4 separate regions of the Homo sapiens genome follow, and regions 1, 2 and 3 are each linked to region 4. The links are contacts of gene promoters, found by promoter capture Hi-C in blood cells and fetal thymus (Javierre and others, 2016). All regions are on one chromosome and are shown on one strand. Each heading gives the region's core, a stretch centred on a gene start or on the middle of the fragment in contact. The rest is flanking DNA. Distances are from core to core; before and after follow the strand shown.

Evidence for each region. The method cuts DNA at HindIII sites, captures the fragments that hold promoters and counts their contacts. A CHiCAGO score of 5 or more calls a contact.
Region 1: a contact is called between a fragment that was not itself captured here and the fragment with the promoter of GRK5 in region 4, in 17 of 17 cell types (M0 macrophages, M1 macrophages, total B cells and 14 more). The highest score is 24.0, in M0 macrophages.
Region 2: a fragment that was not itself captured here is called in contact with the fragment with the promoter of GRK5 in region 4 in 2 of 17 cell types (M0 macrophages and M1 macrophages); the score reaches 7.2 in M0 macrophages.
Region 3: a fragment that was not itself captured here is called in contact with the fragment with the promoter of GRK5 in region 4 in 8 of 17 cell types (endothelial precursors, total B cells, M1 macrophages and 5 more); the score reaches 10.8 in endothelial precursors.

What each region holds. Positions count from the first base shown.
Region 1 is chr10:119,409,873-119,413,005 of GRCh38, forward strand. All of the region lies in intron 4 of GRK5 (G protein-coupled receptor kinase 5), which reads left to right. Among named protein-coding and RNA genes, the nearest start is that of MIR4681, 33 kb to the left of the region's middle. The HindIII fragment of the contact is 468 bases long and covers 1,203-1,670 here.
Region 2 is chr10:119,429,886-119,433,072 of GRCh38, forward strand. GRK5 (G protein-coupled receptor kinase 5) reads left to right here. Exons shown (of 16, transcript NM_005308.3): 7 at 490-553; 8 at 1,502-1,642. Among named protein-coding and RNA genes, the nearest start is that of MIR4681, 54 kb to the left of the region's middle. The HindIII fragment of the contact is 2,426 bases long and covers 224-2,649 here.
Region 3 is chr10:119,355,929-119,359,475 of GRCh38, forward strand. The region is part of intron 2 of GRK5 (G protein-coupled receptor kinase 5); the gene reads left to right. Among named protein-coding and RNA genes, the nearest start is that of GRK5-AS1, 18 kb to the left of the region's middle. The HindIII fragment of the contact is 1,444 bases long and covers 1,298-2,741 here.
Region 4 is chr10:119,205,858-119,209,184 of GRCh38, forward strand. It overlaps GRK5 (G protein-coupled receptor kinase 5), which reads left to right and starts at 1,714. Exons shown (of 16, transcript NM_005308.3): 1 at 1,714-2,112. The coding sequence starts at 2,061. GRK5-IT1 (GRK5 intronic transcript 1) reads left to right here and starts at 2,564. Exons shown (of 2, transcript NR_186528.1): 1 at 2,564-2,793. RefSeq lists enhancers at 221-300, 411-460, 481-590 and silencers at 931-1,760, 1,971-2,040, 2,091-2,140. The HindIII fragment of the contact is 5,116 bases long and covers 1-3,327 here.

The DNA.
Region 1 (3,133 bases), core at 187-2,686, 200 kb after region 4:
CCCACCGTTTCCCCACCGTGAACATCCCCAGCACCTCAGGGCCTGGGCTCCATGTGTCAGTGACCTGCATGTGGTTGCATTGGCCTGAGCGGAGCTGGCTGCATGCAAACCACTGGCCAGGAAGAATCCCACTCCTGCTGCTGCTCCTGCAGCTGCGCCGGGTCCCGCGAGCCCCCGCGTGCGCGGCCTGTGTAAACAGTGCGTCATCTCCTGTTGCACACTTTGGGCCTGCGGGTCACGACCAGGGATTATCAAATTGACAGAGCTCAGCTGGCCTCTCACTCCACGTCCGGGCACATTGCATTTTGTTAATTATCGTCTTTTGCTTTTGACGTAAAGGGTCGGGGTCTGGGTCAGGGTCACTGTGTATTTTCCTTTCCTTCTCATTAAAGTTGCCCAGCTCTCAGGGCCCCCAGTTAAATTCTGCCAGCGTTTAAAGATATCTTCCCTCGCTTCCCGACCCCTAAGCGCACTTCTTCCTTATTTCTGTGAAGCCACTGGAATAGCAAAGGAAATGTGGGTCAGGGTCTTTCAAACCCAGTCCATTTTATTTTTCTTGAAGGGCTGCAGCTATTTCTGAAGGGCTGGGTTTTTCTACTTTGTTGGCCCAGAGAACATGACACGCTGGGTCTCAGGCTGACCAGGTCAGCAGGGCACTGTGAAGGGGCTGGAACCACCCCCGACGCTTTGCAGCCCCAAGGCAAGGCTTGCTCCCAGCACTTCCCAGCCACACGGCCCTCACTTGGTTGCTCATAGCCCTGAGCCTGCTGTCTGCCTGTGATCCTCAGTGCAACCCTACCATCTGAAAGGGGTCTAGAAAAGTGTCAGTTCTGCCATTAGGAAAAGTGAATTCATCCAGAGCTCTAGTCTTGGAAGAGTTCCTAGCGCACAAATGGCATGAGCTGGAGGATAGAAGGGTCCTCCCTATTGCCTGGCTAAACCCCCTTTACCCTTTGGGCCATGATCAAACCTCTCCACAGCCGTGGAGCCACCTGTGTCTAAAGAGGCCACCTCTGTGAGCGCTCTCTCCTAGGTGCTGAGGGGCTGTGACCTGCACTCTACAGCCTGCAGTCCTTGCTGACCTTGAACTCCTGCCATTGGCCAACAGAGTTGGTCTCTGGGGTCCTTAGGGTGGACCTCATGGCCTGGGCACAGAATGGGCACTCAGGGAACCCGTATGGCTGATGGACCCCAGCTGAAGAAGCTTTCCGACTGGTCACTGGAGCAGTGGCCCCACCTCCACCTCTGCTCACAAAGACAGCTCCCATGCCTTGAAGTCTCTTCCTGGCCTGGTGGAAAACCCAGCTACCCTCATGGTCACCACCAAAGAGGTACAAGAGATCCTCAGCCAAAGAATTAAGGAGGTTGCAAGAGTGGTGGTGTGTGTCTGCACCATGATGGAGTCACAGGCCTTTCGTGGATGCTGGTTACTTCTGAACACTGTGTCATGGTGTCACTCCCACTTTCTCCTCCGCCAGACACACAAGACTCCAGAGAGCCCAGAGACCCCTTAGACTCTAGGTCTTTGGACTGTTCACCAAGGAAAGATAAAAATGGCAGACTGGATGCCATCTTCCTAAAGGCATCATGGCCTCTGGAAGGGCCCTGGAGAGGCCCCTTTGAGAGTTGGAGACAAGGGAAGATCCAGAGTTTCTTTGAGGGGGGACTGAAGCTTAAATAACTTGCTGAGCATGCTTTTTAAGAAAAAGAATAGGAGGTTAGGTACAAAAGTGAATATTGAGAAGGAGAAAAGAAATCACAACAAATTACTGAGGGCTTGGAGATTCATATCCTTTTCATCTGTGACCTCAATTTCCCGGAAGTGCTTCTGTAGAAATGCTCTGTCTCCCAAGATAGAGCATTCTGTAGCTCCCAGGACTACAAATAAAGGACTACTCCGTCTCAATTAACAAACAAACAAACAAAACCCTAAAGCTTCGGCCTCCTCAGCTTCATTGCAGATCTGCTTCTTTTTTTTTTTTTTTTTTTTTTTTTTGAGATAGAGTCTTGCTCTGTCGCCCAGTCTGGGGTCCAGTGGTGCGATCTCGGCTCACAGCAACCTCCACCTCCTGGAGTCAAGCAATCCTCTCGCCTCAGCCTCCTGCATAGCTGGGACTATAGGCATACACCACCACGCCTGGCTAATTTTTGTATTTTTAGTAGAGACGGGGTTTCATCATGTTGGCCAGGCTGGTCTCGAACTCCTGACCTCAGGTGATCCACCTCCCTCGGCCTCCCAAAGTGCTGGGATTCCAGGCGTGAGCCACTGCGCCCGGCCTCAGATCCGCTTCTGATTGGAGGCTGTGCCCACCTTCATGGGAAACGGTGAGCATCACCTTCCTTTGAACTCAAAAGAGGCACAGTGAGAGCCTTCCAGCCTCGATCACAAGGACCTCTACCCACAGGCTGCCGGTCCGGTGTGTCTCTGCCTGGCAGGGCTGTGCCTGGCACGGTGCCCGGGCCGTGCAGTCCATCGCCTGGGCTGACCACGAGGACACCCCGGTGAAGAGCTGGGCGTGCTTGGGCCGAGGGCTGCTGGATGTTGGCATCAGGCCCAGGGTGGAGGGAGGGACAGGCCACGAGCCCGCACAGCTCGTGAGCGTGTGGCCGGACTGATTTATTTTTCTCCCCAGTGACCCCGAAAACCAAACCCTGCCTTCTTTCCTTTGGTCTGTTCTTGTCTGGGGCTTGTGGATCACGTCTCCTGCCTGGCCATGGACAGAGAAAGGAACCACTCCAGACGGACGTGAGGGTGTGTGGCAGTGGCTTTTCCACATGGCCCTGAAGGTTTTGATTAAAAAGGTGGAAGAATGGTGCTTTTTCTTCCTGTCAGCCAGGCCTTAAATCAACCCTCAAGTGAGGAAATGCTCTCTGCGCCTGCTGCTCAGCAAACCTTTTTCTCTGGTTGTGACCGTATGAGCATGTTTAATTGCAAGCCAGGGTTTAGGGTTGGAACAGCCCCCATTCGCCCCACCACCCTCTGCTTTCCCCACCCCAGACCCCGTCGCTGCAGCTGGGTGAGCAGGGCTGAGTGAGCTCAGGGAATCGGAGCTCGGCGAGACGAGGGGAGCTCTTGGCCGTGTGAAGAGCACTTGGAGGCCTCCTGCTCACCTGGCCTAAGCCCCTGATTTTA
Region 2 (3,187 bases), core at 187-2,686, 220 kb after region 4:
AGGAAGCACTGTCATCCTGCTGGGCAGACTGAGATGCACAGGTGTAGGGAGGGCTGTGACCTCCTTCGCGTCCTTTGTGGGACGCTGGTCCTCTGTGGCTCCTGGCCCCCACCCCTTCCTGCACAGAAGGCACAGCTTCCTTCTGAGTTTCGCCGCATGATTTGCAGAGAGAGGAGAACCACATGGAGAGTGTGGTCAAGCACCTCTGCACTCAGGTTTTTCAAGCTTTCTGAGCAAGCGAGGCTTGTGCATCCCCCAGCTTGCAGGGGGCTGGGGGCTGGGGGCCAGGGGGCTTGGGATTTGAACACTCAGCTTCAGACTAAGTCCTCGAAGGTCCAGTCTCCAGCGATGATTCCTGGGGGGTCCCTGGGGCTGCTGTGGGGCTCCTGGAATTATACCCCACCCCAGCTGCTCTCAATGTGCCACTGTTTCCTGTGGATTCTGAGTCTTGGCACCATGAGACCAGTGTGGGATTCTTCTTTCTTCCAGGCAACCGGTGACCAAAAACACTTTCAGGCAGTATCGAGTGCTAGGAAAAGGGGGCTTCGGGGAGGTGAGTGAACATTCACGTTTTTAATTGAAAGTTCTTACATTCAAGTCACCTTTCCTGTCCCTTCTAAATCAACCTAAAGGGTTGGCCCACGGGTCCCCCGGGGGCACCAGTGGCTCAATGTGGGCCCCGGGGGCAGTGAGGGTGGGAGAGAGTCAGTGGCCTTGGGGCTATCAGGTGTGTCTATGGTGGAAAGAGGTTGTGGAGCTGGGCAGGTGAGACAGACGTGCTCTCCTGCCAGCCTCAGGCAGGATCCAGCCTGCAGAGGACAAATGGGCAGCCCTGGTCGTGTGTGGGGAGGAGATGTGAGGGCGTGAGGAGGCTGGGCAACCTTGGCCACTCAGTGCCTGGATGACGCTGTCATGCAAGATTCGAGATTTCGTTGTACATTACCCGATCTTCCCAGCATGTGAGGCAAGCCTTGTTATTCCCATTTTAGAGATGAGGAAAGCTGAGGTCCAGAATGGTTAGGTGACCCAGCCAAGGGCGCGCAGACAATGTGAGGCAGAGCTAAGACTTAAGCCCAAATGCTTTGGTTCCCGCTTATCTGGATTATGAAGTCAGTGTTCTTGAGGATCTCCTATCACTGCCTCCCAAAACAAACTTCTCTACCGGCAGCCGGTAGGAGAAAATCCTGTTGCCCTGGGAATGGAACGGTACTTGGGGCCCCAGTCAGTTATCTAAGCCTTGGTGTGAGTGGCTCATTCTGCCCCTTCCAGGGCTGGGAATCCTTGAAGGAGAGGAGGAGGGAGGGCAAGGGCCCAGGACAGCTGTGGGCCCCAGGCCAGGCATCACTGGGTCCTGGGAGCCTGGAGCACTCATGAAGCCAGGCAGGGCCGGCTCTGACCCCATCCATTCTCTACCTGGGAGGCCTGTGGTCCCCGCCCTGGAGGAGCTCGGGGCAGGCCTCCACGGTGCTCCTGCCACCCTGGTTTCTTTCTTGCACTGCAGGTCTGTGCCTGCCAGGTTCGGGCCACGGGTAAAATGTATGCCTGCAAGCGCTTGGAGAAGAAGAGGATCAAAAAGAGGAAAGGGGAGTCCATGGCCCTCAATGAGAAGCAGATCCTCGAGAAGGTCAACAGTCAGTTTGTGGTGAGTGAGCATCTGGGCCCAGTGACCGGCTCGCCCTTCTGTGGACTGGGGCTTCCCTCCCTCCGGAAGGGCGTGGTCCTCTAATGCGGCCGGTCCCCACCCCTGGGAAGGGGAATGCCAGTGGCAGCGCTGAGCTACAGAAAGGCCGCAAGACATTCCTCCATCACACGGCCCATTGTGGTCGACTGTGGCTGGCTTTGTCCCATCCCCAGAGCCGGCCAGTGCCTGGCTCCCTGCTGTGCATGAGACCGACGCCTCTGTTCTCCTGGACCACTTTGTAAACTCCTCAGTGGACAAAGAAAGTTCACCTGGGCCCAGGCTGGGAGCTGTGGGTTCCACAGACCCTCTAGGCTGGTGCCATCGTGGTGGGGACCTTAGTGCCAGCATCCTGGAATGGCACTATCAAGTCTGTGTGCATTGTGTTAGTCAGTCTAGGCTGGGCCCTGCTGCAGTAACACATTTGCCCCAAACCCTAAGTAGCTAAATACAGCAGAGGTTCATCTGTCACTCACCTGAAGTCCAATCAGATTGGGCCACCCTCCTCCATCTAACAGCTGCCCCATCTGGAGCCTTGAAAGTGAGTGCTAGGGGTTCCACACAGAGACTTTCCACTGCCTCTACTGGACAGATGTTCCTCAGTTTCACCCACAGTCTGCCAGCCAGAACCAGTCAACACAGAGACAAGTTAGTTTCAGGGGAGGCTGGGAAATGTGAAGTGCATGGATATTTGGTCAGCTCTAATATCTTCTGCTACACACTGTTATAAAAAATAAAGCTGGGTGCAGTGGTACATGCTTGTAGTCCCAGCTACTCAGAAGGCTGAGGCAGGAGGATTGCTTGAACCCAGGATTTCGAGGCTGCAGTGAACTATGATCGTGCCACTGCACCCCAGCCTGGGTGACACAGCAAGACCTCATCTCTAAAACTAAATACATGCATACATTAAAAATAATATATACACAAGGTAAAAATTTAAACAGCACAGAAGGATACACAATAAAACGAAAAGCTTCCCTCTTTGAGTAATCACTCCAGGCATGTTTTATTCATGCACAGGCTTTATTATTCTTAGCCAATGGGATCTTCCTGTACCTCTTATGGAGGAATGTTTTTCCCTTACATTGTAGATCTTTTTCTCCATCCAGACCTCTAGTCACACCCCTTTTTAAAGTTGGGCATCATTCTCCTGAAGAGATAAAGCATAATCCATATAGTCAGTCCCCATGGATGGAAATTGTTTTCCATCTTTAAACCACTACAGGGCCGGGCACGGTGGCTCACGCCTGTAATCTCAGCACTTTGGGAGGTCGAGGCAGACAGATCACTTGAGATCAGGAGTTCAAGATCAACCTGGCCAACATGGCAAAACCCCATTTCTACTAAAAATACAAAAATTACCTGGGCATGGTGGTGGGCGCCTGTAATTCCAGCTACTTGGGAGGCTGAGGCATGAGAATCACTTGAACCTGGGAGGCAGAGATTGCAGTGAGCTGAGATCATGCCACTGCACTCCAGCCTGGGTGACAGAGTGAGACTTTGTTAAAA
Region 3 (3,547 bases), core at 770-3,269, 150 kb after region 4:
TCCTGAGCCCTGAGAAACAACCGATGCTATATAGTTATTTTTTCACTCTAAGATAACTCAAGATAGAAACTTTTAAATCTAGAGAGCTGATAAAGTAAGATAATAATACATTCTGCAGGCCTAAGAACCCTGATCTGGAGGATCAAGACTGGGTCATGCATACATTGCATTAGACAGCGACACCTAATGAACAACAATGGTATTACAACCCAGCTCTATGAAACCAGGGACTAGCAAGAGTAAATGCTGTATTCAGACTAAAGGACATAGATAAGAGCACATTCTGTCAGGCAGAGTATTTCATTATTTGATATTCTTAGACAAAACAAATTCTCAGGGTGTGGAGGGCAATTTACAAAATATATAATGACAGTTCATTTGCTTAGACCTTCTTCCTTAGTTAAGTTGAATGTTAGTGGTCCATCAGGGAATCTGGAGCATAGAGTAGAATCACAATCACCTTGGACTTATAAGAAATAATTCAAAGACTTTATAGAATCAGTCTCTAGTCCCAGAATTTTATGTTTTTACCATGTTCGTGGCTCATGCTTTCTTGATTTCTGGCATCCTGTCTGATTTCTGAGTTTGGGCTAGCTAGAGTCTTGTTTGTCTATCTTCTTGATGCCCAATAAGATCAGCCCCTTTACTGTGCCTGGATTTCTATATCCAGCATTACCTAAATCCAACTTTACACAGGCTTTGGGCTCTTCCAGTTCCTCTTCTGCCCTTTAACCCCATGTGTGCCCCAGAACCATCCACAAGGAGATGCCAAGAATAGAGAAGATGAACAACAACAACAACAAAACAGAACTGCAGCCCTTCTGTATGCTTCAGTCTCTAGCAGGCTCAGCCCAAGCCACTACCGATCCCTTTTCTCACAAGTTTTCAATGCAATCTACAGGAGGCTTTGTATTCTCATATAGGAACCCTTCTCAAAACTGATAAAACGATAAAGGCTTTGCTTTACTAAAATTTGCTGTGCCAGCCCTCTCTTTAGCAACTGACCAGTGCTGAGCTATCTCATGCTACCTCTATGGCATTGTCAAAGAAGGCAGGGAATGTCTTTGCCCACCAAAGAACAGCATGTGTGTGAGGCCCATGCTAGGGAAGAAAAAATTCTTAACAAAGTGAGGTGTGAAGGTGGCTGGGGGCCAACTGGACCCTGGAGCCCAAGCGAAGTGAAGTGATGCCAGATGCCTTGCCCTATCAAAGTAATGAAAGTGATCTGGAAATGGTGTTTTTTCTCATTTTAATGACAGAGCAGGGCTGGGTAAGGAATAACTGTAAGTGCAGATGAAGCTTGTTTATGCTCCAAAGATAAAGTCACAAATGGGGGGTAGGGTGGGCTGTGGCCTTCCCTTGCTCTAGGCAAATTCCCTCAGCACTAGAGAAGGTGCCTTCCAAAGGGCCTGTGTTGTGTCTGCAGTTCTGTTCCCAGGGAAGTGGAAGCTGAGGCACCTGTGGTAAAGCCCCTCATGGGAGCGGGGGTCAGGGAGATGTTTGGAAAGGCTGTGGCTGATAATGAGACGCGGGTAACCCTGGTGGATATCGTTCCATCCTGGTGCGTGCCTTCCTGGTTGCCTCCTGCTGCCTGCTCCTGGGGAGTGGAGTGGGGGAAGCATTAGTCTGGATTGTTGTTGGCTTGGTTGCCTTCCAGAGGCCTGCATCCAGGTGCCAGGGAAATTCTGACTGAAGTCCATTCAACAATAGCAATAGCGGCTCACACTCAGGCCTGCTGGCCCCACCATTGACAGCTTTGCATGAGCTTCTTTCCATGCAAGAGGGCTGTCCCCAGGTTCACTCCCCACTTCTTGTTCTGCTGCCTGCATTCTTGGCCACGTAGTTAAGTCTCCCTCCCTTTGTGCCCCCTTTATGTCTCTGGTCTTCTCCAACATTAGCCATGCCATTGGCAGGGTGGGGGTGGGTGGTGGGGCACGCTTCCTGACTCGGATGCCTTGACCCCACAGGGACTGAGTTTTGGACAAGGTGCAGCGGCAGCCTCCCAAGCCAGGGGTGGGCAGCGTCTGCTGAGCAGATCCTGGTCCTCTCGGGGTGGCTGCATCAATCACACCCAAAGGGGAGAGGCCTCAGTATGGAAAGTATGTGAGCCTTGGATGGAATCACGGATGGCCCGAAATGGCTTGGCCCCTTGTTTCTAAGGCCCCGGCTGGTTTCCCCATTGTGCAGTGGGGAGGGAGAAAGGGGCCAGCTTGCCTGAGTTCCTGGAGCACGAGTGAGAGTCCCTGAGCCACAGGTAGGTGAGGGCAAGGGTGGCAGTGTTTTGGGGTGTCCACGCAGCATGCATGGCTGGTCCTAGCTCGGATGTTGTCTGACAGTCACCCATGAGGAACAGGAGTCCCTCCCATTACTCAGCCAAGGGCACAGAGTGATTATGCCCGGGGTGTAGCAAATGCTCTGCAAATAGTAGCTGCTCTGACCATGTGATTTGACTGGCATTGCCCAGATGCTGAGTGGTGGTGCCAGGATTGGACCTGTATCCATCTCATGCCTCCACCCAGGCCCTCCACCCGGCAGCCTGGCCGCCTTCTCCTGGTCCTGGTCCCCTTGCCCCCAGGAATTGAGGCGTGCATGGTGCATTTCCATCTCCCAAATCATGGTCCTGTCTGTGCCCTCATCTGCTCCTCTTCCACAGGCCTCTCAGGGAGGCAGGCAGGGCAGAGTCAGCAGCCCCATTTTAGAGACCAGGAAACTAAGGCCCAGGGATTCCTCAGAGGTCACCAAGCTTGTAAATGGCAGCACTGAGCCTCAAGCCTTGCTCTTTGGATCATCCACTTTGTATTAGTCTGCTCAGGCTGCTATGACAAAATACCACAGAGTGGGCGGCTTAGACAACAGGTATTTCTTTCCTCACAGTTCTGGGGGCCACAGTTCAAGATCCAGGTGCCTCAGGGCTGGCTTCTGCCCTTGCTGGTTTGTAGATCCACTGTCTTCCTGTTATGTCCTTGCCCGGCCTTTCCTCTGAGCTCTCTGGTGTCTCTTCCTCTCCTCCTAAGGACACCAGCCCTATCAGTTAGGGCCCCACCCTGAAGAATTCATTTAACCTTAATTACCTCCCCAAAGCCCCACCCCCAAATATAGTCACATTGGGGGTTAGGGCTTCAACATATGAATTTGGGGACAACACAGTTCAGTTCATAACACACCCTGAGCCCCCTCCACTGTTTGGAGTCCCCTAGGTCACACCAGGGGGGTTGCTGGTGCTGTGCATCAGAGGAGCCATTTGGAGAGACTGTGCCAGAGGCCAGGGGTGGGGCTGGGGCAATCCAGGAAGGCTTCCTGGAGGAGATGTGTGTACACACGAGAGGGCTTGGGGGCAGTACATGCCCTTACGGGGGCCTATTTCAGGGAACCCCACATGTAATCCACACCAGTAACTCAGATGAGCTGTAGCTGTTTTCCAGGAGCCACTTTCTCTCCATGGTTATGGCAAGAGGGGAGCCTCCGGGTCCTGCGTGGCCCAGCAAGGCAGCTGTGGGTTGATGCAGCAAAGCAGGTTGTGTTTCCAGGTCATTCGTGTGGAAGGGAA
Region 4 (3,327 bases), core at 464-2,963:
CCAGCAAGTGACCAGCGTGGTTGGTGGAGGGCTCTAGGAGCTGCCAGCTTTAGGGGTCTCGCTGTCTGAGAGAGATCCTTTCATTAAAGGTTAGGGCTCTAGGCACGTGAATATGTAGCAAAGACCAAGCCTGGATTGCTTAGAACAGTAATTCCTGGAGTGGTAAGTGCCTGAAAAGTTACCCGCTGAGCCCTCCGCCTTCTGACAGGTAAACTGTTGTTGCCCCCATTTTGCAGACAAGATAAATGAGGCCCTGGGAGACTCACTGACCCAAGTCTAGACACCAGGAAGTGGTGGTGGTGGGTATACTCCCCCAGGAAAGCAGGTAATCTTGGGTTGTTACAATCAGTGACCAGACCAGTTTCCAAGGCCTGGAAGGTTTATTGATTTCTTTATATTCTCCAATGCATAATAACTGTTCTCTGTTTCTCTCGGCACCTCCCTGCGACTTCCTGGCAGCCCTGGGGACAGAGGGTTTCCTCCTTCTGGACAGAGAAGGCCCAGAGTCGGCTTCTGAACGGATATCCGGCCCGCAGGATGCAGAGGAGGCAAAGGCCTCATTGTTCTTTGGGGCCTGCCTGCCCCGCCCCCAGCTGTAGGACACTCGTGGCAGATCCCGGGTGACCGAAGACAGCCCATTTCCAGGAGTGGGGCCTTCGGAGCGGAGGGAGCAAGGAAACGGGGCTGAGCACAGACCTGGAGTCTGATGTTCTGAGCATAACACTGGAAGGAGCTAAGAGCCCCAAAATAAATAAGACCGGAATTTAAAAACGTTAATCCCACGCCGGCTTGGCGCTGGCCTGGCTGTTACTCATTAACGCTCCCCACGGCGGAGACTCCGGCGACTCCGTCTGCGTTTTTATTACTTAATCTGGCTGGGTTTGGCTGCAGGGAGGCTCGTGGATTTGCTGGCCGGGTGTGCTGGAAGGCAGTTTATTCACAGAATAAGCAGCTTCCCACGCTGGACCCTGAGCCCCAGGCGCCGTCCGCGTAGACCCCGCGCCGCGCACCGCGGCCGGCGGGGGGCGCTCGGGTCGCACCGAGAGCAGCGCGGGCAGCCAGCGCCGGGTCGCAGCCGACCCGCAGAGCCCTTCGCGCCCTCCGAGGAAACAAAGTGCATCTTTGTCCGCGGCCCGAGGCGCCGCGTGGGAGACGCTGGGCAGGGGCCAGGCCGGGCCGGCCGCCGCCGCGTGCGGGGACCCTGGGCGCGCGTCACTGACCCGGGACTCAGACCCTCGCGGGCCTGGCGCGGACCGGAGGAAGCGGGCTGTGGCGCGCGGCCGAGCTGGCAGCCCTCCCACTCCGAGCACGGCTCGGGACCCGCACTGGCTCCTGCCGGGCCGCGGCGCTTCACGCGCCGTCACCGGGGCCCGTGCACTCCGCTTTCCGGGCTGGCGACGGGGCGGGAAGGGGGCAAGCGGGAGCCTGCGGGGGGGTGCTGGGGACTTCGGCTTGGCTGGGCCGCCTTTGAGTCGCCTGTCGGCCGGGCGGTGCCCGCCTTCGCTTTCGGTGCCGTCCCGGGGCGGGTCCTCGCTCCGACAGCCGCGCGCCAGCCCAGCTCAGCCCCGGCGCCGCGCGGCCGGGAGGACTCCAGCTCCCAGCAGGCCCCGCGCCGCGAGCACCGAGGCAGGAGGCGCGCCTGGGCCGGCGCTTGCGCAGTGCGGCCGCCCGAGCCTGCTAGTACCACACCCCCGGGAGGGACTGAGGGGAGGCAGAAGCATCCGAGGCATTAAAGCATCCGAGGGAGCCGGAGGGGAGGAGAATGGAGTGACAGAGACACGCGGAGGGTGGGGGGTGGGGGGGAGCGTGTTGAGGGAGGGGGGAGGGGGGACACAGAGGGAGGAAGAAGCGGCGGCGGCGGCGGCGGCGGCGGCGGCTCCTCTTTGCAGAGGGGGAAACTCTTGGGCTGAGAGCAGGAATAATGCGGTAGGCAAGGCGGGCTGCTGGCTCCCCCGGCTCCGGCAGCAGCGGCGGCAGCCCGAGCAGCGGCAGCAGCAGCGGCAGCACCCCAGGCGCTGACAGCCCCGCCGGCCGGCTCCGTTGCTGACCGCCGACTGTCAATGGAGCTGGAAAACATCGTGGCCAACACGGTCTTGCTGAAAGCCAGGGAAGGTAAGAGGCAGGGCCGGTACGTGCCCGGCGCGTCCGCCGCGGGCCAGGGTGCGGGTGTCGGGTGGCGTGCGGGCTGGGGCTGCGCCCGTGCAGGATGCCCGCTGCCGGCGAGTGGGTCGCGAGCAGGACACTTCGGAGAGCGGCTCTGCAGACCCTTCAGGGTTCCTGCCTTGGGGCTCAGAGAATCTGGACTTGGGCTGAGAAGGTTGCAGGGATTTGGATGCTAACATATCTCCTAGTTTCCAGCGCTCGCCCTGCAGAGCGTGCCATCTCGGCAGCTGTTGAAAGGTCAGTTGGAAAAGCATTCATTCGGGGAGCGACGAGCAAACATGCACATAAAATAGCGTTTCAAGTCGGCCCGGGATGGTTCTGTGTGAACTGGTGTGTGTGTTCGAGGGGCGGGGGTGGAATGAGCAGAAGCCAAGTCTTTGCCTGCGCAGGCTGAGTTGATATAGACTATTGCTGGAAACCATCCGCTGGGATGTTTCTTAGGGAAATCCCGTCGTGTGGAAGGAAGCCTTTTAAAGGCAAAGTCAGATGTTGAGGAATTAGCCTTTTCATAGAATTATCAAAGGATGGCTGTACAGACCACCTAGAAAATAATTCAGTATTTCAGGTTTTTCTTTTCTGGGAGTGTGATAACTGAAATTGTTAGATTTTGGCTCAGTTAAGAAAAGAAAGGTAAGTGTGCTGGTGCTTTAGATACGTTTTCTATGCAAATCATTAGATTTCCTGCATTTAGCTGGCAGGAAATATTGTCTAAATGGAGTGTGTAAGATCCTGAGTCAAACCCTAAGAACGCATATTTTGACTCTTCCTTTTGATGAAAAACAGAAAAAAGGGGGGGGAGGCAGAAACTTGGGTGCTTCCTGAAATGATTGTGTTGTGTCCATGTAAACATATGTATTTAGGAATACCTGGAATTTATGTCGCATATTTTCCTTTTTTTTTTCTGGTCAAGATTTGAGCTCTAGTGTGCGACCTTTTTCATAAAAGGGGAAGAGGTTTTTCCCTTTCACGGGAGAACGCTTTATTTGATACAAGGTAGAAGGCAGACTGAGTAAGGGCTTGAGTTTAGAAGGATACTCGGTGAGCAGCCCATGAAAATGTCTTACCTGCTTAATATTTTCATTCACCTACTTTGATGAATGAAGGGAAGAATTTCTGGCCAGCAATAAAACGATTCGTGTTTATTCAGCCCGTTCCATCACCTTG